Linked DNA regions of Homo sapiens: all the other regions are linked to region 1. Evidence: promoter capture Hi-C in human tissues and cell types (Jung and others, 2019). All regions are on one chromosome and are shown on one strand. Each heading gives the region's core, a stretch centred on a gene start or on the middle of the fragment in contact. The rest is flanking DNA. Distances are from core to core; before and after follow the strand shown. Region 1 holds the start of MSX1 (msh homeobox 1). Region 2 overlaps LOC124900165. Region 3 overlaps LOC124900165. Region 4 holds the start of SNORD162 (small nucleolar RNA, C/D box 162). Region 5 overlaps LOC124900165. Region 6 overlaps LOC124900165.

Evidence for each region. Contacts are between HindIII fragments. The study calls those that stand out against the background at their distance.
Region 2: a contact is called between a fragment that was not itself captured here and the fragment with the promoter of MSX1 in region 1, in 3 of the 25 tissues and cell types used here (heart left ventricle, mesendoderm cells and thymus).
Region 3: a contact is called between a fragment that was not itself captured here and the fragment with the promoter of MSX1 in region 1, in 2 of the 25 tissues and cell types used here (dorsolateral prefrontal cortex and mesendoderm cells).
Region 4: a fragment that was not itself captured here is called in contact with the fragment with the promoter of MSX1 in region 1 in 4 of the 25 tissues and cell types used here (H1 embryonic stem cells, dorsolateral prefrontal cortex, mesendoderm cells and 1 more).
Region 5: a fragment that was not itself captured here is called in contact with the fragment with the promoter of MSX1 in region 1 in 2 of the 25 tissues and cell types used here (mesendoderm cells and thymus).
Region 6: a contact is called between a fragment that was not itself captured here and the fragment with the promoter of MSX1 in region 1, in 1 of the 25 tissues and cell types used here (mesendoderm cells).

The regions. Positions count from the first base shown.
Region 1 is chr4:4,857,561-4,862,175 of GRCh38, reverse strand. MSX1 (msh homeobox 1) reads right to left here and starts at 2,511. Exons shown (of 2, transcript NM_002448.3): 1 at 1,808-2,511. The coding sequence starts at 2,276. RefSeq lists silencers at 1,920-2,359, 2,370-2,609, 2,630-2,689. The HindIII fragment of the contact is 22,824 bases long and covers 1-4,615 here.
Region 2 is chr4:4,612,221-4,616,835 of GRCh38, reverse strand. All of the region lies in intron 3 of LOC124900165, which reads right to left. The region is part of intron 2 of STX18-AS1 (STX18 antisense RNA 1 (head to head)); the gene reads right to left. Among named protein-coding and RNA genes, the nearest start is that of LINC03091, 39 kb to the right of the region's middle. The HindIII fragment of the contact is 7,918 bases long and covers 1-4,615 here.
Region 3 is chr4:4,640,399-4,645,013 of GRCh38, reverse strand. All of the region lies in intron 3 of LOC124900165, which reads right to left. The region is part of intron 2 of STX18-AS1 (STX18 antisense RNA 1 (head to head)); the gene reads right to left. Among named protein-coding and RNA genes, the nearest start is that of SNORD162, 22 kb to the left of the region's middle. RefSeq lists enhancers at 2,113-3,030, 3,949-4,615. The HindIII fragment of the contact is 4,554 bases long and covers 1-4,115 here.
Region 4 is chr4:4,663,535-4,668,149 of GRCh38, reverse strand. The region is part of intron 5 of LOC124900165; the gene reads right to left. All of the region lies in intron 4 of STX18-AS1 (STX18 antisense RNA 1 (head to head)), which reads right to left. SNORD162 (small nucleolar RNA, C/D box 162) reads right to left here and starts at 3,824; the gene lies at 3,727-3,824. RefSeq lists enhancers at 941-1,536, 2,439-2,939. The HindIII fragment of the contact is 3,847 bases long and covers 585-4,431 here.
Region 5 is chr4:4,691,008-4,695,622 of GRCh38, reverse strand. The region is part of intron 5 of LOC124900165; the gene reads right to left. All of the region lies in intron 4 of STX18-AS1 (STX18 antisense RNA 1 (head to head)), which reads right to left. Among named protein-coding and RNA genes, the nearest start is that of SNORD162, 29 kb to the right of the region's middle. The HindIII fragment of the contact is 3,488 bases long and covers 893-4,380 here.
Region 6 is chr4:4,723,891-4,728,505 of GRCh38, reverse strand. The region is part of intron 5 of LOC124900165; the gene reads right to left. Among named protein-coding and RNA genes, the nearest start is that of SNORD162, 62 kb to the right of the region's middle. The HindIII fragment of the contact is 4,671 bases long and covers 1-4,615 here.

The DNA.
Region 1 (4,615 bases), core at 1,262-3,761:
AAATTCTACACTTTCCCCGGAACACTTCGCTCCTACGGGATTCTAGGAGTAGTTCCCGCAGACCAGAGATGGAGCAGCGCAGACCATCATGGAGGGTGCACTGTGGCCAGCCCTCTTAGAAACAGAAAGTGTCATCTGGAGCGGAGAACGAGGGGCTGCTTTATTCTAATGGGCTTTTTCTTTAGATTGTCTCAGTCCTCTGTTGGATCGCGTTCACCCCTGGCGCCAGGGCCCTCTGGCCCCACTCAAACGTTTGTGTGTGTGTGTGTGTGTGTGTGTTGATGTTGTTGCGGGGGGAGTGTTGAGATCGCCTCTCCCCTCAACCTGTGGCATAGTCAGCAGACATCAACATGCCCAGCTGTCTTTTTCTTTTGGCTTCAAAATAAACCTCAAGGGTGGACAGTGAAGAAGCATCAGAGCGCAGGACTAGTGCAGGTCGGGGATGGGGTCTGCTGGGGACTGCCCCCGGATAAAATGTGGAACAAATTATCCCAACACAGCCGGGATCGCTTTGACTTCGGGGTCTTGGGGCCCAAGGCCCTAAGCGTTGGAAAGGACACTTTGCCTATGCAGCAGCTTTCCCGGCAGAAAGTGAATTCAAATCGAAGATGTTTCACCACGCGGGTTTTGCCTAAGTATGCATTTTTTCACACCTCTCTAAAAAACAACCACAAACAAACAGAAAAAACAAAACAAAACAAAGAAAACACAACGATCCTTTGGACTTTCAGACCACCAGGATGTGAGTCAAACGAAATCTCGTGTTAACACCCCGCTTCTTCCCTGCTGGAGGCCACCGGGAGTCCGGGAAGCGCTTGGCCCCCAACTAGCTTTCCGCCGGGCCGCCCGAGGGGCGGGCGCCGAGAGAAACGTCACTCCCTTCAGCGGCGACAACCCAGAGCGGGGCCACCTTCTCCGGCCATTAGGCTTAGGGAGGGACTGGCCTTTCAAAGACGTTTAATCCCCAGATAAAAATCATTCCTCAGCATCACGCCATTGAAATCTGGCTGCTATTATGCCGAGCAAAATAATCGGAGGAAACGAGGAAAACTTGGGAATTTCCCGTGCTCCTGAAATATCTCCGAGCGTGTTCTCTGAGTAGAGCAGCCAGGGGGCCGTGAGGCCTTGGAGCGAACCGCCTTGGGCACCTGGAGTCCACTTTAATGGCTCAGTCCTAGACGTTTGGGAGCTTCCCATAGGATTAGCGGGGGCGCCTTCCCCTAATTGACTTGGTGCCCCGCCCCCTCCACTGGAACCTGAATGTCCCCACCCCTGAATCATCCATCCGCCCAAAGCACCAACTATCTGCCTCAAACTCAAAGGGCATGGGGAGGTAGAATTCTGTAGGAGCTTCGGAACCTCTAGGCAAAGAGGTACTTGAAAGGGAAGAGGGGCTGGGGGACACCAGCTCCTACTGCGAGAAAGTGAAACTCCGGGTGCAGGGAAGATACCGCACCACACACATTCATCCGCTGGGGTGAAGCCGATGAAACAGAGTTTGGGATCAGATGAGGGATCATGGACCCCTGAGGTCGTTTGGTGGGGGCAGGAGGACAGGGTGCCCAGACATCGGTGTCCTATCCGTTAACTCCCACCCGCAGCGTCTCTGGGCCAAGGCGAGGAGGTCTGGAACCTTCTTCCTGGGTGGGAGTGGAGGGAGGCGCAAGACCCGGCCTTGCAGCCCACGGCTCCCTAGCACCGGCTGCAGGTACGCAGGCGCCGGAGGCCACCAGGAGCCCTCGGGTCCCACACCCCACCCGGCCCCCACCCGGCCCCCTCCCTCTGCGCCTGGGTTCTGGCTACTCACTGGCCGGCGGCGGGGAGAAGCGGGGGCTCTGCATCCACGGGGTCCTCTCGGGCTTCTCGGGGCTCTCGGCTTTGACGAGCGCATCTTCTGGCAGCTTGAGGAGTCCCCCCACCGAGAAATGGCCGAGCGGCCGCGGCGAAGAGGGCGCGTCCGGGGCTCCCAGCGACCCCGGCGGGACGCCCAGTGGCTGCGCCGAGCCACCCGCCGCCTGCACGCCCTCGGAGGGCGCCAGGGCGCTCTCCTTGGCCCCCGGCTTCCTGTGGTCGGCCATGAGCGCCTCCACGCTGAAGGGCAGGAGCGAAGGGGACACTTTGGGCTTGGCCCCCTCCTCGTCCGCGCCCATGGCGGCTGCCGTGGCCGCGGCGGCGCTGGGGGCCTGGCCCGCGCCTCCCCCCGCCGGCTTGCCGAAGGCGGAGTCCTCCACTTTGACACCGAGTGGCAAAGAAGTCATGTCAGCAGCCGGGGCCATGCAGAGCCGGGCCCCCCCTTCTGCCGCAGCACTGGCCAGCCGCCGGGCATGGGCTCCGGGCGGGCTGGGAGCGCGGCCGGCCTCTGCGAGCGCCCGGGGCCCTGGCCGGGCGGACCCTCCCGCGCGCGCCTCCCGCCCCTCCCCAGCAGGCCAGCTCCGGCGTGCTGGGCCTGGCCTCCGGTCGCTGCCGCCGCGCAGGCAGAGTTCCCGGGAGCACTCGCCGGCTCCGGGCCCTACCGCGGCTCCCCAGAGAACTTGCTAATAAGGCGAGGCCAGCGGGGCGGCGGCCAATCAGCGCGCGAGGGGGCGGGCCCGGAGCGATCCATTGGGCCGCGCTCCTGGGGACTCGCCCGGAGGCGCGCTGGGCCTGGGGGCACGCAGGGCAGGGCCCAGGCGGCGGAGGGCAGGGGAGGAGAGGGGGTGCCCGGGAAACTTTCCTCTGCGCTGAAGCCCAAGAGGCCCTCTCTGCGGGAGTCCCCTGGGTCTCTATCTTTCTGTGTTCCCGGGGGATTTTCCCTTGTTCTCGTTCCTTCTCTTCTGCCCTCCTCTCCTCCCCTCCCCTCCCCTCCTCAGCCCTCTTTTCCGCTCCTCTTTTTTTCCCCGTCCTTGTTTCTCTCCTCTACTGCTTCTTTTACCTTTCTCTTTAGTCTGTGGCTGGGTTTCCCTGTGCCCCCCTCCACTGTCTGACCCCCCCTCTTCTTCTACCACAATAATTTGAGTTGAGGTTATTTCTTACACATTCCTTTTATATATAGTTTTTAAAATACGCATGGCTATTTATCCTAGGAGAAAGACATACTATTAACTTCTTTTCAAGAAACGAAACAAAACCAAACCTTCATTTTCTTCCTGTTCTGAAATCTTGTAAACTTTACCTCGAGGTAAAAGTGGGCCTTTGTCTCTAACTTAGAGCTGGAGTAAACCTTGCGGGAAGAAGCTAGCTTCCTGTAGTGCCAAGGATGTGAGAATACGTAAGATTATCTAGAATCTGCAGTCGGTTTTCATACACGATGTGTATTCCCCCCCCCCCACCCTCGCTCTGAACTTCTGTCCCAAGGGTCACAACACCTATAGCGCCCGGGCGGGGAAAGGAGCTGCCAGATCCTTTTGATATAGAACTTACTGAAATAAAACCAACAGAATCGTCAATGAAACACCGATCTGGCCTTAAGGTGACCTCAAACAACGCGTCCTCGGAAACAATGACATGTCCCTATCTCTGGGCCGCTGATCCTGGAGGGGAGAGGCACATTTGGGGGAGGGGGCTGGGAAAAGAGGAAAGTTCCTGGAGGTGGACTCTAGTGTGGGACTTGAGAACTCTTCTTTTGCCAATTTCGGAGAAAACGTGATTTAATGTTTGCTGTTAATAATAATAATAATAATAAAGACAGAAAAAATGAGTTGGGGTCAGGGGAGATGCAAGATCTGCCTGAAGCGGGGTCGGGGCTTGGCCATTTTCTGCGCCTGTCGCTTTATGGCCTCTCCTCCTGCGGCCCAGGCCAGCGGCTCTCAGGGAGTGAGCGGAGGTGATTGGCGGCTCACTCGGCCCTGCCATTGATGACTGCGGGGTTCTAATCTCCAGGAAACACAAGGGGCTGCCGTGGCCATTTAGGGGTAATTATCCGAGCGCGGAGGGACAGCGAATTCCCTCGACTTTTAACTGGGCGCAATAAAAGCTGTAGATTAGGGGCGTCCAGATTAGGGAAAATGAATTAGAGCGGGAACTTTATTATCCGGAAGACGTCCGGGGTCTGGCGGCAGGGGTCGGGCTGCGGACGCCGGAGCGATTGGTAGCCTCCCATCTGTCCACAGGCCGCCGAGATATGCTGAGGCCTGGGGAAGTTCGGGAATACCGGCATCTGAATTTTACGCACATCTCCAGGTTTCTAAAGGACCCAAGACTGCAACTCAGGCACTGGGCAGTGGTTGGGGCTTCTAGCTCGAGTTGGGCCGGCTGGACGCGCGGTGCACCGGGGCCTCCGGAGGTTTGCCCGAGAGGGTACAAGGATAGAAGACCTTAAGACCCAATTTTGAAGCTCAGCTCGCTGAGGCTGAGCAAGGCTGTAGGGCAAATACCTTGCTGGTAGCCCAGCCAGGACAGCGAACAACAGCATCTTCCTCTTCTTCCTCTTCTTCTTCTTCTTCCTCTTCCTCTTTTTCTTCCTCTTTTCTCCTCCTCCTCATCCTCCTCTTCCTCCTCTCCTCCTCATCTCCTCCTCCTCCTCCTCCTTCTTCTTCCTCTTCCTCTTCTTTGAGACGGAGTTTTGCTCTTGTCGCCCAGGCTGGAGTGCAATGGCGCGATCTCAGTTCACTCCAACCTCCGCCTCCCAGGTTCAAGC
Region 2 (4,615 bases), core at 924-3,423, 250 kb after region 1:
GCATGCCACCATGCCTGACTAATTTTTGGGTTTTTTGTTGTTGTTGTTGTTTTTGAGATGGAGTTTCGCTCTATTGCACAGGCTGGAGTGCAGTGGCACGATCTCGGCTCACTGCAACCTCCACCTCCCAGGTTCAAGCGATTCTCCTGCCTCAGCCTCCCGAGTAGCTGGGATTACAGGCGCCTGCCACTACGCCCGGCTAATTTTTTGTGTTTTTAGTAGAGCCGGGGTTTCACCATGTTGGCCAGGCTGGTCTCAAATTCCTGACCTCAGATGATCCACCCGCCTCGGCCTTCCAAAGTGCTGGGATTACAGGTGTGAGCCACCACACCTGGCCAATTTTTATTGTTCTATCTCATGATCTGTTCTGTCATAAAATCCTCTCTCTAAAAGGAGACTCCTATGAAAACTTATTTTTTATTTATTTATTTTTTTGAGACGGAGTCTCGCTCTTTTGCCCAGGCTGGACTGCAGTGGCGCTATCTTGGCTCACTGCAAGCTCCGCCTCCCAGGTTCATGCCATTCTCCTGCCTCAGCCTCCTGAGTAGCTGCGATTACAGGCGCCCACCACCGCGCCTGGCTAATTTTTGTATTTTTAGTAGAAATGGGGTTTCACCGTGTTAGCCAAGATGGTCTCGATCTCCTGACCTCATGATCCACCCGCCTCAGCCTCCCAAAGTGCTGAGATTATAGGTGTCAGCCACTGCGCCTAGCCGAAAACTTATTTTTAAGAAGCTCCAATGCCAAAGAGAAGAAGTGGAGCTGATGAACTGAATTTCCTCCCAAGGCTTTTGGAGACTCATTGGCGTTTTAAGCAGGAGAATGGCTAAAGAGATGTATAGTTTGGGAAAATCTGGAGGCAGCGAGGGGAAGGCTTTGGGGAGAGGGCAAGATCCGAGGCACAGAGACTAGAATGTGCAATGGACCAGAAGAGAGGTGGAAAGCATCCTGGACCCAGAGAGCAGCCACATAGAAAACAGCTAAGGAGGGTACCAGGTGCAAGACATATTCCAACATCACGGCCTGCCTGCCTCCATCATCTGTTCTTGGGCAATAACCATACTGTCTCTGAACTTCAGTCTCCTATTCTATCAAATGGGGGCATAATACCTACCCAGCAGAGATGTCAGGAGCATTAAGTGAGATCACAGCTAAAGCACATCTCACGATGTTTCTCCCATTGCAACTGTTATTTCCTGCCCCCAACCATGTAAAGACTCATTTTCAAACAGCAATGGAGATGTCTAAGAGAGGTACACCCGTCTCTACTGCTGTTGTGAAAATAAACAAAAAGCCTCTGTCTTCCGTTTGGAGAAGAAATGATCTTTGAAGCAGCAAGCTGGAATCTGCAAGGCACAGGAGAATTTCATTCCAAGTCTATAAAAAGGCACTCGGAAAGAAAGCCTTCCACACGAGGGGCCTTCCCCAACCAGATCCAGATGTGTCTCGAGAACAACGTGCCTGAGGAATTAGGCCAGATCCAACATCATCAAATGAGACCATTCTCTCCTTCCACTTAACCATGAGAACTCAGGCAGGCTCCTGACTTCTCAGACCCCAGTTTCCCCATCTGGAAAGGTGCAACACCTTTGATGTTACGGAGTTGCTGTGAGCCCTGTGAAGCAGCATGGGGAAAGTAGAGAAATCCTGGGCATGCCATCTCCTGGGAGACTTTGGGCAGATGGTTAATTATCCAAGGCCTCAGTTTCCACATCTGTCAAATGGGCATAGTACTCCCTCTCTCACAAAGTTCATTCATTTTTTCCAAGTCTGAAGAATGGGCAGGTCTCTGCCAGGGATCTGGCTCAACTGTAGATGCTGGATTTGCCACCAGAAACACAGACAGAGCTGCTGTTATCATGGGGCTCAAAATCTCTGGTCAAGACCATCTGTGAGAATAGCACAGCCTGCCCAGCACAGAGACAGTTGGACGTGATAGCCAAAGATCCTCCGGAGCACGCCTGCCTGGGTTGGAATTCTCTTTCTACAACTAGCTGGCCAATTGCCCTTTGGCAAGTGTCTTAATCTTTCTGTGCCTGAATTTCCTCATCTGTACAATGGGACAAATCCCCTTTCATCAAAATGTTGTGGCTGGACACAGTGGCTCACGCCTGTAATCCCAGAACTTTGGGAGGCCGAGGCAGGTGGATCACTTGAGGTCAGGAGTTCGAAACCAGCCTGGCCAACATGGTGAAACCCTGTCTCTACTAAAAATACAAAAATTAGCTGGGTGTGATGGTGCACACCTGTAATCCCAGCTACTGGGGAGGCTGAGGCATGAGAATTGCTTGAGCCCAGGAAGCAGAGGTTGCAGTGAGCTGAGATCATGCCACTGCACTCCAGCCTAGGTGACAGAGTGAGACTCTGTCTCAAAAAACAAAACAAAACAAAACAAAACAACAACAACAACAAAAACTGTTGTGAGAACTCACTGAGTTAAGACGTGGCTGGCTCCTGACAGCTACCTGTGTGTTCTCTCTCCTAGTTATATTTTCTAGTGTCAGGCACTACGCAACCTGGCTCCAGTCTCCTTCCTGCCTCCACTCTTAATAATTTCCAGGCATGTACAGCCGTGCAAAATCTAGCAACAGCAAGCTACTCCCAGATTTCAAAAAATACTTTTGTGTCTCAAGTCCCCATACTCACCCTCAACTATTCCCTTGGTTCAGAATATATATCTGTATCACACTCCACCTGGTGAAGTCTCCCTCCTCCTTTAAGCGCCAGCTGAAACATCACCTCCTCCAGGAAGCCCTCTCTGATTTCAAAGTCAACAGCATCCCTCCCTCTCTCTCCTCTGTAGTCAGTGGAGGCACATCTGCAAATTTCTAGGGGGCACAGGATAAATCTTCACTATCTCTAAACCACTCTGCCCATTCCCAGGGCCAGGCCATGGTGGCTGCTCTGCCAGGGCTTATAGAACACATGAATGGATGAACGGATGATGCAGTGATAAGTCTTCCCACTAAAACATGGATATTGGGAGGCTTTATGAGGCAGGCAGATGATTCGCTCCATTGGACTGATGCTGAAGCTGAAGTTCTGTGGGGGTAGGATATTTACCAACTCCCACAGTCGTTAAGCAGTGGAAGGAAACAGTGGTGGGGTCTTAGCATTCAGCGCTCTACCAGTGGTGTGCATGTCGGCCTTAATCACACTATTTCATCCCTCCTCAATCAAGCAACTGTGAGCGTTTGTAAATATCTTTCACCTCTTTTCTATGCATAAATAAAAATAGGATAACATTTCAAAACTTGTCTTTTTTTTAAGAGGCATTGTATAATTCATATTACTGGCCAACTTCAGGGGGTGGTTATCTGGTTATTTGTTTGTTTGTTTTACTTAATAACATGTCAGGAAGAGCCCTCCAGATAATTATGTAGAAATCTAATTTTGGAAAGACTGGTATTCCAAAAAGCCATGTATCATAACGTATTTAACCTTTCCAGTTCCGGTGGACTTTCAGATTGCTTCCAGGTTTCTGCCACCACTAACAGTGTGGCAATAAACATCCTGTTCCTATGTCCTTATATTTTGGGGTTTTCATTTCTGTGGGAGAGATTCCCAGAAGTGGGATTGCTGGATCAAAGGGAATGTGTATTTCTCAATGTTAATAGATACTTACAGATTACATTTTCAAGAGGTTTTGGCAATCCCCAAGGACCCAAACTTTAAGTCCAGGTCTTGCAAAGGAAGTACAATATCAGAAAGCACTTTCCTCCCTTTGGGATGCACAAAACTAGCCTGATGTCTGGAGAGGAGCCCTCCCTCTTTTTTTTTTTTTTTTTTTTTTTGAGACGGAGTCTTGTTCTGTCACCCAAGCGCACAGTGACGCAATCTCAGCTCACTGCAACCTCCCACTCCCAGGCTCAAGTGATTCTCCTGCCTCAGCCTCCTGAGTAGCTGGGATTACAGGTGCACGCCACCACGCCCACCTAATTCTTGTATTTTTAGTAGAGATAGCGTTTCACCACGTTGGCCAGGCTGGTTTCAAAATCCTGACCTCAGGTGATCTGCCTGCCTCGGCCTCCCAAAGTGCCGGGATTACAGGCGTGAGCCACTGTGCCTGGCCCCTCCCTTTTTGAACCCAGCCAGTGAGGCTTCCAGACGGTGTGGAAGCAAGCAGATGGGGCTTGCGTCTTGGCTAAGTGCCCGTGGGCAGGTCATTCAACCTTGCCAAGCTCGTTTACTCATTCATAAAAGGACCCAAACCTGGAATAAAATTACTTTGCAAGCACTTGGCTGGAGCGAGCAGACACAGTGGGGGCTAGACACATGTCACGTGTTGAGGATAACTATTCTGTCTGCTTAAGTAAAGACCCCACCGACACTGGGCTTCCTGATCCAGCTGCTCTGGAGGGCTGCGGAGGCTGTACCTTTAAGCCACTCCAGGCCACCTGGCGCTACATGAGCTGCGCAGGGCTTGGGCAGCCTGTCTGTCCTTCCTTCTGCATTGACTCGGCACACCATACCCTTTCCAGGAGGCCTGACCACAAGGCACCTCTTGGGATATACTTGCTGTTCTCTTCTCCTTTTCCCTTCCTACCCATATGCACCGCACCGCACCCTTTCAAAGCCTGGTCTGTCATCCTGAGCGTGGGTCCTTATCTACCTT
Region 3 (4,615 bases), core at 589-3,088, 220 kb after region 1:
TCCCAAGTAGCTGGGACCACAGGCATACACCACCATGCCTAGCTAATATTTTTGTATTTTTTGTAGAGGCAGCATTTTTCCATGTTGCCCAGGCTGGTCTCAAACTCCTGGGCTCAAGCAATCTGCCTGCCTTGGCCTCCCAAAATACTGGGATTATAGGCATGAGCCACCATGCCCAACCCATTTCTATTTTTTAAATTGATGTTTTGATTGAGATTATTGTGGATTCATGTGAAGTTGTAAGAAATAATACAGAAAGACTCCTTATGCACTTTGCTCACCCATGTAACATTTTCAAAACCATAGCATAATATCACAATCAGGATATTGGCATTGATTTAATCTACCAATCTTATTCATACTTTCCCAATATTACTTGTATTAGTGTCTGTGTATTAAATTCTACACAATTTCATCAGGATAGATTTGTGTATTTACCACCACAGTCAAGATACTGAATAGATCTAACACAATCCCCCCCATCCCCCACCCCATAGAAATCCTATTTATTTAAAGCTAGAGACCAGGCGTGGTGACTCATGCCTGTAATCCCAGCACTTTGGGAGGCTGAGGCAGGCAGATCACCTGAGGTCAGGAGTCCGAGACCAGCCTGGCCAACATGGTGAAACCCCAACTCTACTGAAAATACAAAAATTAGCCAGGCGTGGTGGTGCACGCCTGTAGTCCCAGCAACTCTGGAGGCTGGGGCAGGAGAATCGCTTGAACCTGGGAGACAGAGGTTGCAGTGGGCTGAGATTGTGCCACTGCACTCAAGCCTGGGTGATAGAGCAATGCAAAAAGTAGAGTTTCCTCTTCAAAGGCTTTCCTCCCCATCGAATTAAGAATAAATAGTAACTTCTCTCAGAAGCAAAATTTATTCAAAGACCTGTGCTAACATTCTTAAATATCTGCTAGCCGTAATAAAGAAATCAATGTACTTTATGTTCTTGGCTCCCACAATTTAGCCTAAATATTTGCCCTGGCATGCTTATACTGGTCCAAGCAAGCATTAGGTCATAGCATGTTCCTCTTCCTCATTTGAAGGTTTTTACCTTTCTCAACATTGCACAAAACAATCAGGACAAATACAGAATGTGAAGCCCGGTTCCAGCCAATGGAAACTGGACACAGCAGTAAGGTGGACACGTCAGGTTATAAATGACCCTGTCTCCTTTGTTCGGTGCACTCTCGTGGCAAAACTGCTGACGAGTGTACCCTTTCTACAGAAAGTAAAAAAAGGAAAAAAAGGCCTTGCTGAGGAAATTAAACTTATGTTCAAGTGCTATTTCTTTATGGCACCTAGGAACAAGCATTTCTAACAGTAAGACTCTGTCTCAAAAAAAAAAAAGAAAGACAAAAAAAAAAAATATTTAAAGCTAGAAATGCCCCTAGTTGGATTTTGTGAGTCAACAGATCATAAAGATTAAGAAAAGGCTCAGCATCTGCTGATCTGGGTTCAAATCCCAGCTACACAACTCACAGCGTGCGAACCTGGCAGGGCCTCTAAGATCTCAGTTTCCTCATCTGTGAAATGGGGAAACAACAGCACCAGCATTCAACAAAGCATTCCATAAATGCAAGCTGTTAGCCCAGCGTGGAGACCGATATTCTGGAAGTTGGTAATGAAGAAACTGAGGCCCCAGAGGCACAGACACTGGCCCAAGTTTGCACACGAAGCTGGGGACACAGCTGAGATGGGAGCCCAGACAGACGGGTTACAGCAAGATTCCTGACCAACCACGCAGGCGGGCCGCGCAGTCCAGCAGCCAAGAGAACAGGCTCTAGAGGCCACCTGCCTGGGTGAGTATCCCGAATATTAACTGAGACAAGCTACCTCAGTTTCCCCCATGGCTCAGTTGCCTCATCTGCAATGTGAGGATGACAATCAAGCTGTGGTATGGATTTGATGACATAATACAGGTCAAGTAATTAATTATCAGATGAAGAGCACAGTGTGTGGTTATTATTCATATTAAGCCAGTTTCTATAACTACTTGTCTTCACTAATTTTTTTTTTAAATTAAAATTATTGTAAGGGACTCTCTGGGCTAGGATGGCAAGGGGCAGACACGTCCAACAACGTGAGAATGTTATGGCAGAATCTGAGTATATTCCCTTAGAACCATAATAAACAATCAAACTAAAGGAGACCTCAGACAACCCATCTGGCCCAATCCTGTGTTTCCAGGCAAGCGCAGCGCCTGATTCCTCCACACAGAATTTCCTTCTTTTTGTGGCTGGATTAACTCTTGAATACCAAAAACTTCTGATCCTGTACTTGGAGCCTGTTGTTAAAATGTCATTTCCAAACAAACATAGGTTACAATCTTTTCTTCTCTCTCTCTCTTTTTTTCCTTTCCCCAAGATCAAAGAAGGCATTTGGGCCTTTAAGATAACATTCATTTGGAAAGAGATGGTAATATATAAGATTAATGAAAATTAACATAATCCCTCTGAGTAGAAGAGAGCCTTTGTTCAATCGCTTGTCCTGCTGTTAATTATGCGTTAGGTGGTGATAAATGCTTTAAATCAAACGATGCTGTGAAAACCATTTAAATGATTTTCACCTAATTAGGTTCCTTGCCCTGTTCTGAGCCAGGGATCCCTCCCCAGCGCACCCGCCTCCTTTTGATATGTAATGTACCAGGGGGAATCAGGGAACCCTGAGCTGGAGAAGGAACCTTTTCTGGCTTCTCTGGCTCTGACCAACCACCGTGGGCCCACTGTTGCGATTTATTTTTTCTGAGCGGCTTTGCAGATCTGAGATCAAAAGAAAATTTATCAGTTTCTGTCTCCCTTCAGCCCATTCCAGCCAGACTTTGTGACAAGACCCTATCAGACTTAAAGTTGAGAAGGCCCCAGCACGGAGAACAGAGAGAGAGAGCGAGAGAAGGTCCCAGTGAACTGTCACTGTCAGATTCGGCAGCGGAAATTGCTGCGTGGCACCCAGCCGGCCTTTGAAGGGGGCTGGGGCTGGCAGCCGCTGGACCGGGGTGGGGGAGAGCTAGTTTGTGCAACTCAAAGAGCCGGGGGTCACAGATCCATAAAGGCCCCCCAACTCTGTCGCTCCCTCTGAAGTTGAAATACCATCTGCGCGCCTGAAAGAAACTGGTTAAAGGTGAACTGGCTACTCTGGAGGGGAGGGAAGGGGTGGAGGAGTGAGAAACAGGCAAACATCCCAGACAGCTCCCAGGTCCTCAACAGGAGGTGTCCTGGGCTGAGAACTCTGGCCACCACAGTGAAAGTTTGGGGAGCAAATGAACGCCTCCTCCTGGGAGGCTCCGGGATTGAAATTCAGCACGTTCTAACTCGTGTCTTTCTTGCAGCAAAATGCGCACATCAGAAAATTCATTTGGAGGCAAATCAGCCACCACTATGGACTGGCCCTTAGTAGCCAGGTGGCACTGGATAAGGTGCTCAAGCTTCCTGGGCCTTGCTTTCCTCTCGGGAAACCTGTAAAGCGCCGCAGGCCCCATGGCCCCACACACCGATATGATTCCCAGATTCCGCGAGGAATCCCAGCCAACACCCCATGTCTGCATCACCTCAGTAGATTCCTGGTATCTTTCTGTTTCCAGCAGGCTGAAAAATCACAAGGGCAGCCTCTCTCGCTGTGTTTTAACCTCTCGCCATCCCCTTTGAAGCCCAAAGATACAAAAGGGAAAAGGAAACAAAAATTCCTACAATAGACACCCCTTCTGGCTTAAAAAAGAGCCAGTTCACTTGTGAAGTTGGGATCACCAGAGTTTCTTCTCTCCTTTTATCCCAAACAATTTGTCTGTTTACAATGGAGAGCTTTTCAGATCCCCCTGAAGTTGCAATGATTCGAACATTTTTGGAACGTGTCTGTTGATTTATGATCCCACGAACTGATTTTGAATTAATTCCTTTTTCTAAAGGACAGTTGGTTTCCCATTAAGGGGCAGACCCTGAATGCCATGCCTCTGCCCTCGTGCTAAATGAACTTTTTAGAGGTTCCAGATGATGCCTGGCATCGGACAGAGGCCAGCCAGCCAGAGAGGTCACTTAGCTGGGATGAGTTCCCCGGACCATCCCCCATGTCACTGTGGCAGGAAGCGGTGCCCTCTGGAGTGAGGCATTTCAGAAATGCCTTTGAGACCTCAGGCCAGGCCGAGCTGGCCTCTGGGGCCCTCAGCAGGAGCAAATGGGAGAAAGGTCAGTCCCAGCGCCCTCAAAGCCCCGAGGCCCCGCTGCTGTGCCCCGCTTGCCTGACTCCACCCTCCGAGCCCCACAGGCTCCCTGCTTCACAGGGAAGCACTTGGCCTTCCCAGGAGCCCTTCATCATTCTTATTCCCCCACACTTTATAATATATACACAACATAAAACTTACCATTTTACCCTATTATTATTATTATTATTATTATTATTTTTTTTTTTTTGAGACGGAGTCTCGCTCTGTCGCTCAGGCTGGAGTGAAGTGGCGCTATCTCGGCTCACTGCAAGCTCCGCCTCCCGGGTTCACGCCATTCTCCTGCCTCAGCCTCCCGAGTAGCTGGGATTACAGGTGCGCGCCACCACGCCCGGCTAATTTTGTGTATTTTTAGTAGAGACGGGGTTTCACCATGTTAGCCAGGATGGTCTCGATCTCCTGAC
Region 4 (4,615 bases), core at 1,259-3,758, 190 kb after region 1:
ACAGTAGGGAACCCCATGGAAAAACGCGCTCGCTTCTTCTCAGGGCATTGGTTTTGGACAGTGGTTTGAAAGTGTTCTCCCCAAACCAGCAACATCAGCATGACCTGGGAGCTTACTAGAGACACAAATCCTCAGGTTCCACCCGAGACTTGTGGAATGAGAGCCTCTGCAGGAGGGGCCCCGCGATCTGCATTTTAACGAGCCCTGATTCTGATGCGCTGGAAGGGAAGGTCTGAGAACGTCATGTATGGGACTCTGATCAGCCCAATCAGCGAGAATGTTAGAATCTCAGGCCCCACCCCCGACCCACTGAATCAGAATCTGCATTTCACGAGATCCCCAGGAAATCGTATGCATATTAGCATTCGAAAAGCTGGGTGACACCCAAATTCGGAATGACGCCTCCTTGCAGCTGTAAAACTCCAACAGAAACTCTTGGGAAAATCACCCAACCTTTTATTTCTTCTTCTGAGAAAACTCCCAGGTGGGAGGGAAGGAAGCCCTTCAGGCTCAATTAGGGCCGTGAGACCCTTTGATTCTTTCCAATCTCCCGATAAGAATGCGGGGCCAAGGGGCGCTGGGGGCAGCCCTCTCCCAATAAGGGGAAAGTGCTTCCCTCCAGGAGGCAGGAAGCCAAACAGTGCTCTTCTGCCAGCTTGGCCAAGGAACGGCCCCCTCGTGGAGCCTCTGGAATTGGGAAGAAAATTCCTTGCAAATTCCACGGCCATCTCAAACCAGTGCGAAAACGCAAGGGCAGCCCAACGTGGTGCAGCCCAGCTCAAAATGAGTTCAAAACAATTACCAGCCAACATGTGTTTCCTATGAATGGTGCAAGTGTTAAAACGGATTTAATTTTCTTTTGTAAATAAAGAGGCCCATCCAGACCGGCCTGTTTATCTCCCTGGGAGAGATGAAAGTGTTTCATCTGCCAGTAGCCTCTGCCTGCTGCGGAGGTTGGGGGCAGCTCTCTGGACCCCATGTGTTCTCTATCTTGTAATCCAAAGTCATCTTTCCCATGTGGAACTGTTTGAGCACCATGAGGTCTTTTCTCGAAGTCTTACTTTTAGTTATCTAAAATAGTACTCCCTTTTTTTTTCTTAAACATATTAGTGATTCATAAACAGTAAAATTAGTCTGCTAGAAGCTGATGGAGGTATTCATCCTGGTGGCGCCTGCTTTCCTGGGTTAGTAGTTAAAATAAATCATTGCTGTCACAATGGAATTCAGGCCTAAAAATCACCTGTAGGAATCCTCACCATCCCCCCTTTCACCTCCCCCAGGCCTCCAGAGCATCTAGGATCAAAGCTATCTTCCTCACTCCAGCTGAGGGGGGAGAGAAGGGAGGAGAAGGAGGAGGAGGCCCAGAAGGAAAATCCCAGAAGTTATACCAAACCAGGAAATTAATGTCTTTGCTCTATTGTTGAAACTGGAAGCACAAAAGTATGAGGCCAATTTATGATATTAGTGTTTCTAAAGCAAAATATGATTAACCACTTCATTATGTAAAGTTGTTTCCACTTAACCTCTTTGTGCTGGCAACCAGAACTTTTTTTTTTTTTTAACTGCAAATTTAATAAATTCCAACATGCCCAAACTTCCTGACTTCCACTGTCCACCACTGGTTTCTTTGGAAACTTCAATAGCGAGAGATAACTGGCGAGGTCTGCTCTGCCTACCTTCACGGCACATGCCATAATCCAGGATCAGGCAAATAAGCTTTCATCTTCGAAGCACTTAAGTTAATTACATGGAGGCCGGTGGAGGCCCCAGAGCCAGTTCTGCGCACAGCCCTCCCAAAGCCAAACATCATAGGATCCAGATGCAAACCCTTGGCAACTTAAGCCCAACAAATTTCCTTTGTCAAGAAATGCAAACAGCCAAACATTGAAGCGTAGGCTACTTCAGTGAGTTGGCCTCCTTGGGTGCTAGGGCCTGCAGAGCCCAGGCCAGAAACCCAGATCAGAAATGATTCAAATGCGCAAGTGGTCGGGACCTAGCTGGTTCTCAGGAGGACCTTGGGTTGTTCGATTTCATTTTGGACGCGTAACCGACCATGCATGCTTGCCTCCTTTTGACATTTTGACAATTTGAAAGGAACACGTCCCAGAAGCAAGGATGTGAGGGGAATGTGTTGTGGGGGGCAGGGGGAATGCTGTTCCCCCATCCAGTGGAGTTCTCACTGCAGGGTTTCTGCCAAGACTGCTGCAACCTTCCACTCTTTCTGACTCCTTCCTATCTGTCCCATTTACAATCGTCTCTTTTTGTGGACCCCTCTACAGACCCAAGCACCATGTCTGGGGATGTCTGTGTCTGTCCTCTGTTCCCATTGCGCACTGCACAGCCCATGCTCATCATCTGGAATTTTCAGGATAGGGCAACCTCCTGTCCTGGCTGCAAGATCCAGGTTCCATGAAAGGGACATTCATGGCCGTTCTCATCCCTCCTGCCTTGCAGGGTGGCTTGGACTGCGTGGGTGAACCTGCCTGATTCTGGGGTGGCCAGAGGAGGTGCACTGGTGCAGCACTTATCCCACACAGTCACCAGCTTCTAGACAGAGCACAGTGGATACTTTGGTGCTGTCCACCTGACTTCAGTGGATTTAGAGCTCAGGCAGATTCAGAGGAGAGGGGTGTGCTTGGTTAGCATCTTACTGCAGGTTGAATTGTGTCTCCACAAAAGATATGTTCAAATCCTAGCCTGTAGTGCCTGTGAATGTCACCTTACTTGGAAATAGGCCCTTTGCAGATGCAATCAAGGTAAAATGAGGTCACATCAATTAGGATGGGTCCTAATCCCATGACTGGTGTCCTGTTAAGAAGAGGAAGATTTGGACACAGAAACAGACAAAGAAGGAGGCATGTGAAGAAAGAGGCAGAGATGGCAGCCATAAGCCAAGGAAGGCCAAGGATTACAAGCAATCACGGAGGCTGGAAGAGGAGAGAAAGGATCCCCCACCCCCAAGAGCTTCAGAGGGAACATGGACTCAGGACATGTGGATTTCACTTCCAGCTTCCAGAACTAGGGAGGAATCATTTCTGTTGTTTTAAGCCACCCAGTTTGTGGCACTTTGTACAGCAGCCACAGGAAACTAACGTACCTCCTAAAGCCTCAATGATAATCACCTGCTTATGGTTTCCCAAGTGCACTCTGAGCATTGCAGGGGGAGAAAACTATACCCTTTCCTCCCCCATGGCAAGCTTCATAGCAGACACCCCTATAAGAAAAGACATATTAACAAGAGAAAAGTGCGATGCATTGATTCCATCTAAGTTTTATGTGACATGCGAACCTTCAGAAATCAAGACTCAAAGACACAGGAAAACGATGCATTTTTCTGCCTAGGTTTGCTGGAGAGTGGACAGTCGTGTGATTGGAGAGAGGGGGTGTGATCTCAGGGTCCTAAACTGGAGGTGCTCAGCAAGGCCCTGTTTGTTCAGATGCGTCTTGGCAGTTCTGTGTCTTCATTCCTTTCCTCTGGGTACAGGTCAGGACACCTGTCACATGAGGGTCTCTACTTTCAGGGGAGTGGGTCAGAGAATCCTTTCATGCCAGTGGTCATACAGCAAGGCCTGGGAAAGGCAGACAGTGGCCTTCCTGCTTCTGATGTTTTCTCCATTTCCGAGGTGCTATGTCTTGGGGTGACATGTCCTGCACACTGTCAGCAACAGGGGGAGTAGGGACCAGGTTGTCCACAGCTTTGCCTGCTCTCTTTACTGGCACATAGTAGGGCTTCAGTATGAGCAGTGAAGCCTGCACTCGCTCAGCTGGACATATGAGCCCTGCTCACGAGTGTCCGGCTACCTCTTGCATTTCATCACCAGCCCCCAGGCCCCATCCGCTTAGCCTCAGCTACCCTGGGTCTTTGCATGTTCCTGGACTGGGACTGGGATGCCCTGCCAGCCCCCAGCCCTCAGCTAGTCTGTTCTCCCTCCCTGTCGAATCCATCCTGCTTCTACACCTGGCCAGCTCTCACTCAACTGGCAAGACCCAAGTGAAAGGACCCTGCTTCAAGGCTCCAACAGACCTTCCCCAAGCCCCATCCAGCCTGCTTCAGGGCCTCCCTCTGTGTCCCCACAGCCCCTCGCATAGCACCTGTCACACAGTACTGTCATTGTCCATTCACAGGACTCCCTCACAACCACCTGAGGGCAGGGGTCATGCACCACCCACCCCTGGGCCCCCAGCCCTCTGCCAGCCAATGACGCATGGGATGCGTGTTGAGTGAATAAATGCTTAAAATGAATAAATGCTCCATAAATAACTGAGTAAATCTCAACAGTCTCCCCAAATGTGCATCCATATGAATCCCAACTTCACCTCAAAGGTCATATCCCCACATAGGAACAGAAATAGGAGAAAAGGAAACCAGCAAGGCCTTCAGTCCCCTAAAAGAGCAAAGATAAATAAAGGTGAAAATCCCTGTAAATTCTCTATGTTGGGCTCCCTTTAAGCTGGACATGAAACATGCCTCATGAGCCCTTGCTTTTTGGTGTGTGCATGTAAGAAAATTAAGAAAATTATATATATTTTTCCTTTTTTTTTTTTTTTGAGACGGAGTTTCGCTCTTGTTGCCCAGGCTGGAGTACAATGGCGCAATCTCCGCCTCCCCAATTCC
Region 5 (4,615 bases), core at 1,387-3,886, 170 kb after region 1:
ACCTACATGGAAGGGTGGATGGATGGATGGATGGATGGATGGATGGATGGATACATGCATGGATGGAAGGATGGATGAGGGAATGGATGGACAGAATTCCAGAACTACAAGGAGGTGGCCAGCTCAATCCACCCATTCCTCTTCAAGTGACCAGAAGCCTGAAGTAGGGAAGTGACTTGTTCAAGATCACACAGTTAATTAGGCCCAAGACTGAGAGATTCTGGCCCTTTTCACTATGCTCCTCCCTCTTTTTAAGTTCCCTGGTGTCATTTATTGCTTCCTAAACTTGTAGCACAGAAACTAGATTATACCACCCACAGACCCTGCCCTGTGCTTGGGGGTCTGGGGTAGGGAAGGGAGGTAACACCTTTGTTTCTGGCTTGAGCTACATGTGGTGCTGCCTCAGTCAGTCTTCATCTCATGAATCCTCAAAAGATAGGAAGGTGGGTTCAGGTGAGTCTCACCCTCACCTGGACTCTAACACAACCCAGATACTGGAAGACTTGAAGTCAGCAAACTTAAGGTCTAGCTCTGATTCTGTCACTAACTGGTTGTGCAACTGGGCAAAAGTCACTTAATCTCTCTAAGTCTCCAAAATAACATGTGAGGGCCATTCTGTCTCTTTTATGGTTTATGGTTTATGGATGTTGGTGAGAGATAACATTCCAGGGCAAATGTTTTCCAAAGCCATCCTGGAGGCTCAGAAGCCCAAAAAGGCAATTCAAAAGAAAACTGCCTACAAAAAAAGGGAGGGCACAGAGAGCCCTGGTGCTTTCTGGAAGGTTCCTCACCTATAAAGCTTCTTCAGGAGCTGAGGGGAGCTTTGCACGCAGCTCCAGATGACGGGCTTCCATGCTGCCAGGCTGCCCAGTCACAGGAGAGGTAATGAGGCAAAGGCCCAGTTCCACCATGCCTCTTATTAAAACAGTACAAGAAACTGTCTAAACACTGGCCAGCTGCCAAGGCCACTGAGGCCTCCTGCAAGCTTGTCATTCCATGAGCTGAGAAGAGAGAACCATGCTGCTGCAAAACGGCAGGGAATTCTGCCAGCCAGGACACTTCAAAGACATTGATGTCCTTGTCCAGCAGACGTGGTGATTCCTGCAGCCTGCACAGAATGGACTTTTTACCCTGGAAGGCCCACTTTAAACAGACGCGAAGGAAGGAGAGTTAGAGCTGAGCGGCAGCAGGAGCTGGGAACTGGGGGAAGCCCTCAGGCCAAGGTCAGGGCTGGCAGGGGGAAGCCACTGAGTCAGCAGAATCCTCCAATCCCTGTTGCTATTCATCAACAACCACTAGGGGACAGGGGCTGATGGGGATCCATTGTGATTCTCACAACAGGCCTGCAGAGCAGATGCTGGGCCTAGCCCCACCTCACACAGGAGAAAACCGAGGCTCCAAAAATAAGGAAATTGCAACAGGCTTTCCAGAGGTGATTCCAGAATTTAAATCTAGGTCTGTCAACTCAAAGCTGGTGAGTCTCCTCTCAGCCTGCACTATTCCTGCTCCTGGCCATGGCACGACCCCAGAAGCCATTTAGTGACCCGAGGAGAAGAGGTGTGCCCCCCTCACTTCCCACCATCAAGGTTGAGTAGGTAGGCATTCCCACAGACTGGTTGCACCAAAGGGAAGGCGGCCAGCCTTTAGGAGCAATCAATGCCTGGCCCGCAGCATTCCACGGCCCAGAGCTCACTGCAGATCACTCTCAAACAAGCCATGAGCTCCCCTCTCTCTGGCTGCAGGGGCTTGTTTGGCTTGGCACACAGAGCAAGTCGGAAGTGCCAGGAAGTGAACATCCTAGGAGTGACCCTCAACCAATGAGGGAAAAGAGTTGGGGGATAAACACGCTATGCTCCTCACTCTGCATGGGACAGTTCTGAGCTGCACCTCCACATCCTCCTGCAGAGGCTCCCAGGGGGCTGAGCCCTGGTTGCCCTCAGCGAAGACTGAAGACCTGACCATCTCCCCCCTTGATTGACTTTCCCTCCCTTCTTGCCTCACTTTCCTTTCCTTCCCTGTGCTTTCTGGATCATCACCAAATAAACTGCTTGAACCAATCCTTGTCTCAGGATCTGTTTGGAGGGAATTTAAATTTAGATACCATCCTGTGAGCAACAGGTGCCATGCAAAAGGGGAACCCCCAAAAGAAAGAGGCAGAGGGAGCTCCAGGCCACATGTGCACTCAAAGCCTCACCTCTGACTCATTCTCAACTTCTTCCTGCCACTGGACTGCACTTTTTTTTTTTTTTTTTTGACACAGAGTTTTGCTCTTGTTGCCCAGGTTGGAGTTCAATGGCGCAATCTCAGCTCACTGCGACCTCTGCTTCCCGGATTCAAGCAATTCTCCTGCCTCAGCCTTCCAAGTAGCTGGGATTACAGGCATGTGCCACCATGCGAGGCTAATTTTGTATTTTCAGTAGAGATAGGATTTCCCCTTGTTGGTCAGACTGGTCTTGAACTCCTGACCTCAAGTGGTCCACCTGCCTCGACCTTCCGAAATGCTGGGATTACAGGCATGAGCCACTGCGCCTGGCCTGCACCTCTTTCAATTATCTGGGTACTCACCTGGTGACATGTTTCCACTTTCCTTCCCACTTTGTGTGATGGTTAATTATTATTATTATTTTTTAAGACCAAGTCCACTCTGTCACCCAAGGAGTGCAGTAGTAGAATCTCGGCTCACTGCAACCTCCACCTCCTGGATTCAATTGATTCTCATGCTTCTCAGCCTCTCGAGTAGCTGGGATTGTCCATGTGGGTGACACATGGACAGGCGCGTGTCACCATGCCCGGCTAATTTTTGTATTTTTTGTAGAGACAAGGTTCACTATGTTGGCCAGGCTGGTCTTGAACTCCTGACCTCAAATAATCCACCCGCCTCGGCCTCCCAAAGTGCTAGGATTACAGACATGAGCCACTGCGCCTGGCCGTGATGGTTAATTTTATGTGGCAGCTTAACTAGATCAAGGGGTGTCCAGATATTCTGCTAAACATTGTTTTTTGTGTGCCTGCCAGGGTGTTTCTGGATGAGATGAGCATTTAAATGGGTGAACTGAGAAAGGCAGGCGGGCCTCCTCAGTGCGGGTGGGCCTCGTCCAATCTGTTGCAGGCTCAAATAGAACAAAAGGTGGAAGAAGGGAGAATGTGTCCCTTTTCTTTGCCTGACGGGTTGAGCTGGGACTTGGGCTTTTCCTGCCCTCAGGCTGAGACATGCACCATCAGCCCTCCTGGTTCTTGGGCCTCTGGACTGCCCTGAACTCTACCGCCAGCTTTCTTGGGTCTCCAGTGTGGGGGATTTCGCAGCCTCCATAATCATGTGAGCCAATTCCTCATAATAAATTTTGTGTGTGTGTCTGCGTGTATGTATGTCTGTGTGCGCACATCCTGTGAATTCTGTTTCTCTGGAGAGCCCTGACTAATACACCTTGCCATCGAGATCAGACTTTGGGGCCAGTTCCAAGGTCCCTACATCACATTTACTGCCTGGAGTCACTTAGGTAGGTGCTATCCCTCAGACCCTGAGCCCAGACATGCCTTCCCCTGGGCCAGCCTTCTGGCGACAGGATTACCAAATGTGCCTCATTCTCACTTATTTTCTTCAACACTCAGGGGCATTTTACTCCACAGAGCAGCACATGTCTGCCTTGGGCCACTGGGTGGACAGTGATATCATTTAACAAAGGGAACACCCAGGGTGAAGAGCTGGTTTAGGGAAGGAAAAAGTGTTGAGCGGGAGGTCCTGAGGCACTGCTGGGAGAATGCCTCAGGGTGGCTTGAGCTATAAAGCTCAGGCTTAGCTGACTGAATGGATCTGAGAGGTTTTTGCCCAAGCAGCTGGTGGGCAAAGCCATCAGAGTGGGTGAGGGTCCCCAGAGGCCAAACCTGAGCCAGATTTTGAGGGGCCCAGAGTTTATACAATTTGGGGAATGGGGAAGAGCTTATTAAGAAACAAGACTGGGTGTGGTGGCTCACACCTGTAATCCCAGCACTTTGGGAGGCCAAGGTGGGCAGATCACCTGAGGTCAGGAGTTTTCAAGACCAACCTGGCCAACATGGTAAAACCCTGTCTCTACTAAAAATACAAAAAAATTAGCCAGGCTTGGTGGCAGGTGCCTGTAATCCCAGCTACTCAGGAGGCTGAGGCAGGAGAATCGCTTGAACCCAGGAGGCGGAGGTTGCAGTGAGCCTAGATTGCGTCTCTGTACTTCAGCCTGGGTGACAGATAGAGACTCTCTCAAAAAAAAAAAAAAAAAAAGAAAGAAAGAAAGAAAAGAAAAGAAAAAGAAAGAGAAACAAAACCCAGAAAATTGTGAAAACAAAATCGCAAGGCCTTTCTCAGACCTGGGTAGAGACCCAGGCAAGTGAGGGACACTGAAGCTTAAGCTTCATGCTTCACTGTATACTCACCTCTGAGTGGGGTCTAACAGACAGGTACATTGTAGTGACATTACTTTCTAACTTTCTGTCTCCATCACTAGAGTGTGAGTGTCGTGTTATGGAATTAATTATGTCAGGTTCACCTGTAGCCCCAGGGCTTTGCATAGTGAATGGCTCTATCAGCAGAGTTCAGTCAAGGAACCAGAAATGTGTCTAGGTATTTTTGGCAGCGAGGTAT
Region 6 (4,615 bases), core at 1,052-3,551, 130 kb after region 1:
TGGCCAGTGCCCTTCGGTGCTGATTCTGAACCCTTTATTGAGGAATTCGTACGGCCTTTTGCCATGTATTTTGTGATCTACTCAGCCAGTCCCCAGAAGGGCAAAACTTCCCTTATGATATCCTAAGATCTATATATTGTTACTATGAATAATAATAATACCTCACATGAGTTCAGCTCTTGACAATTTATGGACTTTTCACCTCCCCAAATGCAATTGGCTTTCACAGCAACCAGGCACAGACATTACAGTCCCTTTCAGAAATGAGGAAACTGAGGCTGAGAGAAATTCACTGACTTGCCCAGTCTTGTACAGAGTACATCAGACTTTTAATCAAGAACATCTAACCTCAAATCCTAGGCAAGTATTACCTCATGCCTGCAAGATTTTCTTATTTGGAGATAAAATTATTTAAATTTGAAAAAATTATGGGAAGGAAGCAGCTTGGTAATTTTAATATAAGGAACCTTTCCCAAACTATAAGTTATTTCCTTTCCAAAACAGGCTCATAAGTGGTTTTGCTATTTTTATATGATTCTCTGTGATGAAATCTGTTATAGGGTACACTTGCAGGTTCTACAGCACAGGAGGGGGAGGTGGGAAAAGCCCATTACCTGTCACTAAGCCCAGTCCTCAGAGAGATGCCCAGGATTTGCTCTAGGTTACCACAGAGTAAGAGGAGTCCTTCCCACCATCTTGCAATTGCAGATTGCTGGGTAACTGAGCCATGAAAAATAATCCTACCCATGTTCCTCCACTGGCCTCAGAGAAGGAATCCTGAAAGCAAATTGTTGTGGTGGAAAGACTCTTGTCTGCATGCCAAGGGGTTCTTTCTGGGGGATGAGAGCATTCCCATGGTTCCTAAGAAAGTATCCACAGAATTCATACATTTCCAGGTTAGCTTCGGTGCAGAAAATCATCTCCTTTCCAGGTTCTGATGGATGCTTGTGGGGTTGGTGACCATGAATGTGTTACTGAAGTTCTCTGTGCCTCAGCTTCCCCATATATAATACGGCATCAGGACCCACTTCCTCGGGTGGTTTGAGGATTTGTATATATGTATTAGTCTGTTCTCATATTGCTATAAAAAATACCTGAGACTGGGTAATTTATAAATTCCCCATGTAAAATAGGTCATGAGGACCCACTTCCTCGGGTGGTTTGAGGATATGTAGATATGTATTGGTCTGTTCTCATATTGCTATAAAAATACGTGAGACTGGGTAATTTATAAAGAAAAGAGGTTTAACTGTCTCATGGTTCTGCAGGCTGTACAGGAAGCATGGTGATTCTGCTTCTGGGGAGGCCTCAAGGAACTTGTACTCATGGTGGAAGGCAAACCAGAAGCAGGTGTCTTCATGTGGCTGGAACAGGAGGAGGAGAGGGAAGATGTGCTGCATGCTTTTAAACAACCAGATCTTGTGATAACTCACTCACTATCATGAGAACAGCACCAAGGGGACGGCGCTAAGGCATTCATGAAGAATCCACCCCCGTGATCCAGTCACCTCCCACCAGGGCCCACCTTCAACACTAGAGATTACAATTCGACACGAGATTTGGGTGGGGCACACATCAAAAACACATCAAGATATAATAGAGGTTAAACATCCAGCCAGCTCTGTCCTGACACATGGCAGGCACTTGATAAATGTCACCTTCCCGACCTTCCAAAGCACACACCCTTTCCCTCACCACCCAGGGAACACCCTTGACTCCAGAAAGAGGAGTGAGAACTCCCAAAGTTGTAAACATATGGTACTTGTTTAGAGATGGAAAGTGAAATGCTGCTTCAAACCTAAGCTGCCTCCTGGGAAAAGCCAGAAGGGAAACAAGAAGAAGTCACTGCTGAAGCTCTGTCACCTACAGCATGGGGGACTCTGCTAAAGCTTCTGCTATTTTTATGCATGCTGGAAAGTGAGGGGAGGAAGTCATCCCTTATTAATTTTTATGTAGCAACCTGTATTCTTTGTTTTACCAACTCCGGGCACAGTGGACACCTCTGAACTTTGCCAGTCAATCACCAAAGGCTTTTGTGTCCAACTAGCAGAAGCTCTTTTCCCTCTGAGGTCACCTTTCCACACACCTGAACCCACCCTGCACCTGTATCATAATCGTTTGAAATACTTAGAGGCTTGCTCAGTCTAGAAGGGGTCATTCCTGCTTCTGAGGTTCACTTGGAGAAGCGGAGTCTGATCTATTTACTGCTGTCATTGCCTTGCATGGCCACAGGTGTCACTGTTGAAGACAAACTCTGTGCAGCTTGCCTAACACACTTGCTCCTGCTGCTGGGCTGCACCTACTTATGGAGGCTACCATGCTGTCTCACTCTAGGCATCAACAATACAAATCTTGCAGTTCACATTCCCATATCTTTTGCTTAGCTGTTGTTCCCTCAAACACACCATTTGCAAGGGTGACTGGGTCCAAAATAATTTTCTGAATAGATCTCAACTTCTGCCCAAACCAGCTCCTTCCCTGTGAACACTCTGTGATGGTTCATTTTACACAACAGCTTGGCTGGGCCATAGTACCCAGATATTTGGTCAAACGTTTTTCTGGATGTTCCTATGAGGGTGTTTGGGGATGATGTTGACATCTAAGTTGGTGGACTTTGAGTAAAGCATGTTGCCATCTATAATGAGAGTGAGCCTCGTCCAATCAGTTGAAGGCCTGAATAGAACACAAAATTAACCTCCCCACTAAGCAAGAGGGAGTAGTGACAGCAGATGGTCTTCAGATTCAAACTGCAACATTGGCTCTTCCCTGGGTCTCCAGCCTGCAGGCCCACCCAGCAGATTTTGGATTTGCCAGCCTCCATAATTGTGATTGTGTCAGTTAGTTCTTCAAAATAAATCTCTCTCTCTCTCTCTCTGCATGCACACACGCACACACACACACACACACACACGCACACATCCTATTGGTGCTGTGTCTCTGAAGAACCCTCTATCCCTATATTGAGACTTCAGTCTGACTCTCCTGACTGTCACACAAGTTCTCCTTCAGTCTTTGATGCTTTCTCTACCTGCAGATCATAACCAGGTGACCTCCATCTTTCCTGACAGTAGACTGGGTCCCTGGGCTTTGTATGCAAGATGGTAACTTCCACACCATTGTCTAAAAATGAAGGTCTATTTGCCTTATACTGCACTGACAAACCAAGAGAGGCTGCCAAAGGATTCTTTCCTGGACAAAGATGATCTGCTCTGAGATGAATTGCCCACCTCTTAGGAGCCAAGAATCCCAGATTAGCTTCTAGTAACCAGAAGCCATCACAGACAGATCAGCTTTGGGCCTGCTAAAAGCACTTTGCATAAATTTTCTCACCTGATTGAATTCTCCGCTCACCCTGGGAGGTGGGTGTTTTACATGCACAATGAGAACACCAAGGTGAGTTGCTTCTCCAAGGTCACATAACCGGTTAGTGGCAAAGTTAATATGCCCCTTATAATCTGTAATAATGTTTTAATACAAGTGTTATTTCTTAATAGAAAAGAAAAATTGGATTTGTGCCTTAATCCTCAGCCCATCTTAGCTAACTTAGGACCAGACTACACTCCAAACTTTTAAAACCATTTTTGGATTGATCAGCCAAGAAAAAAAACGGCTTCTAGGGAGTGTGCTTAGCAATGCCAAGCTATTAACTTCCAGCAGAAGTCAACCATGATACTAAAATGAAAGTTTGATAATATCTATTATTTATCATATTGTTCCCTCCTCATCTCTTTATGATAAATGGATAGAGGCCCAGAAATCCTAATTGCCATGCTTTTTCCAGATGGGAAAAGTAATAATTTTCTCTGTTCTGCCTTTTTTGTATTTGAATGAAGTTTATGAGGAACTCGAGTTGACTCCATCTGGTTCTTATGGGAAAGCAGTTGGATGGTGTTCTGACTGTGTTCCAAATCTTTGGGATCAGTCTGCCATGAACTAGATATAGGACATGAGGAAGGTCACTCATCTTTCTAAGTCTCATTAAAAACAAGAGGCTGCTCTAAAGTCCCTTCCAAGTCTGATGGTCCATCTGCCTCTGGTTCTGCAGATACCTCCTCAGGGTTCAGCCAGGGGCAAACAGCTGCTCTGGAGAGATGGAGGCCCTGACACGGTCCAATATGGGTAACACCTTCACAATCAGAGCGTTTACAAGGCCCAGATGCTGATCCTGGCTCTACCGCCATTGGCTACAAAATCTTGGACAACTCATTTAACATCTTGGCATTTCCTTATCTGCATTTTCCACATTGGTAAGGTAGAGATGATAATGCTGGCCCGAAGCCTACCATTAAAAAATATGAAACAGATTCTTTTAAAAGGCCATAAAGCTACAAGGCAGAACGCTTCACCAAAAGAAGCACTTGGAAACAAGTTTGCCTGGCCACCAAGTCCTCAACCATTGCAGGGTTTCTATGCAAACACTGCCCTCCCAACACACACTGACTCCAGGCTGCTAAGTGTGACTCCTCTGTCAAGGGTCCTCAGCCCCCCGAGGAGCTGCACCAGTTTCTGCATCCCAGATCCAAAAGGGGGTTCATGGGATTAGCCTGAGAAAGGAAGAGTCACAGAGGGACATTTGTGTGAGGTCTTGAGCCTCTACCCTGGCTACCACGGCTCC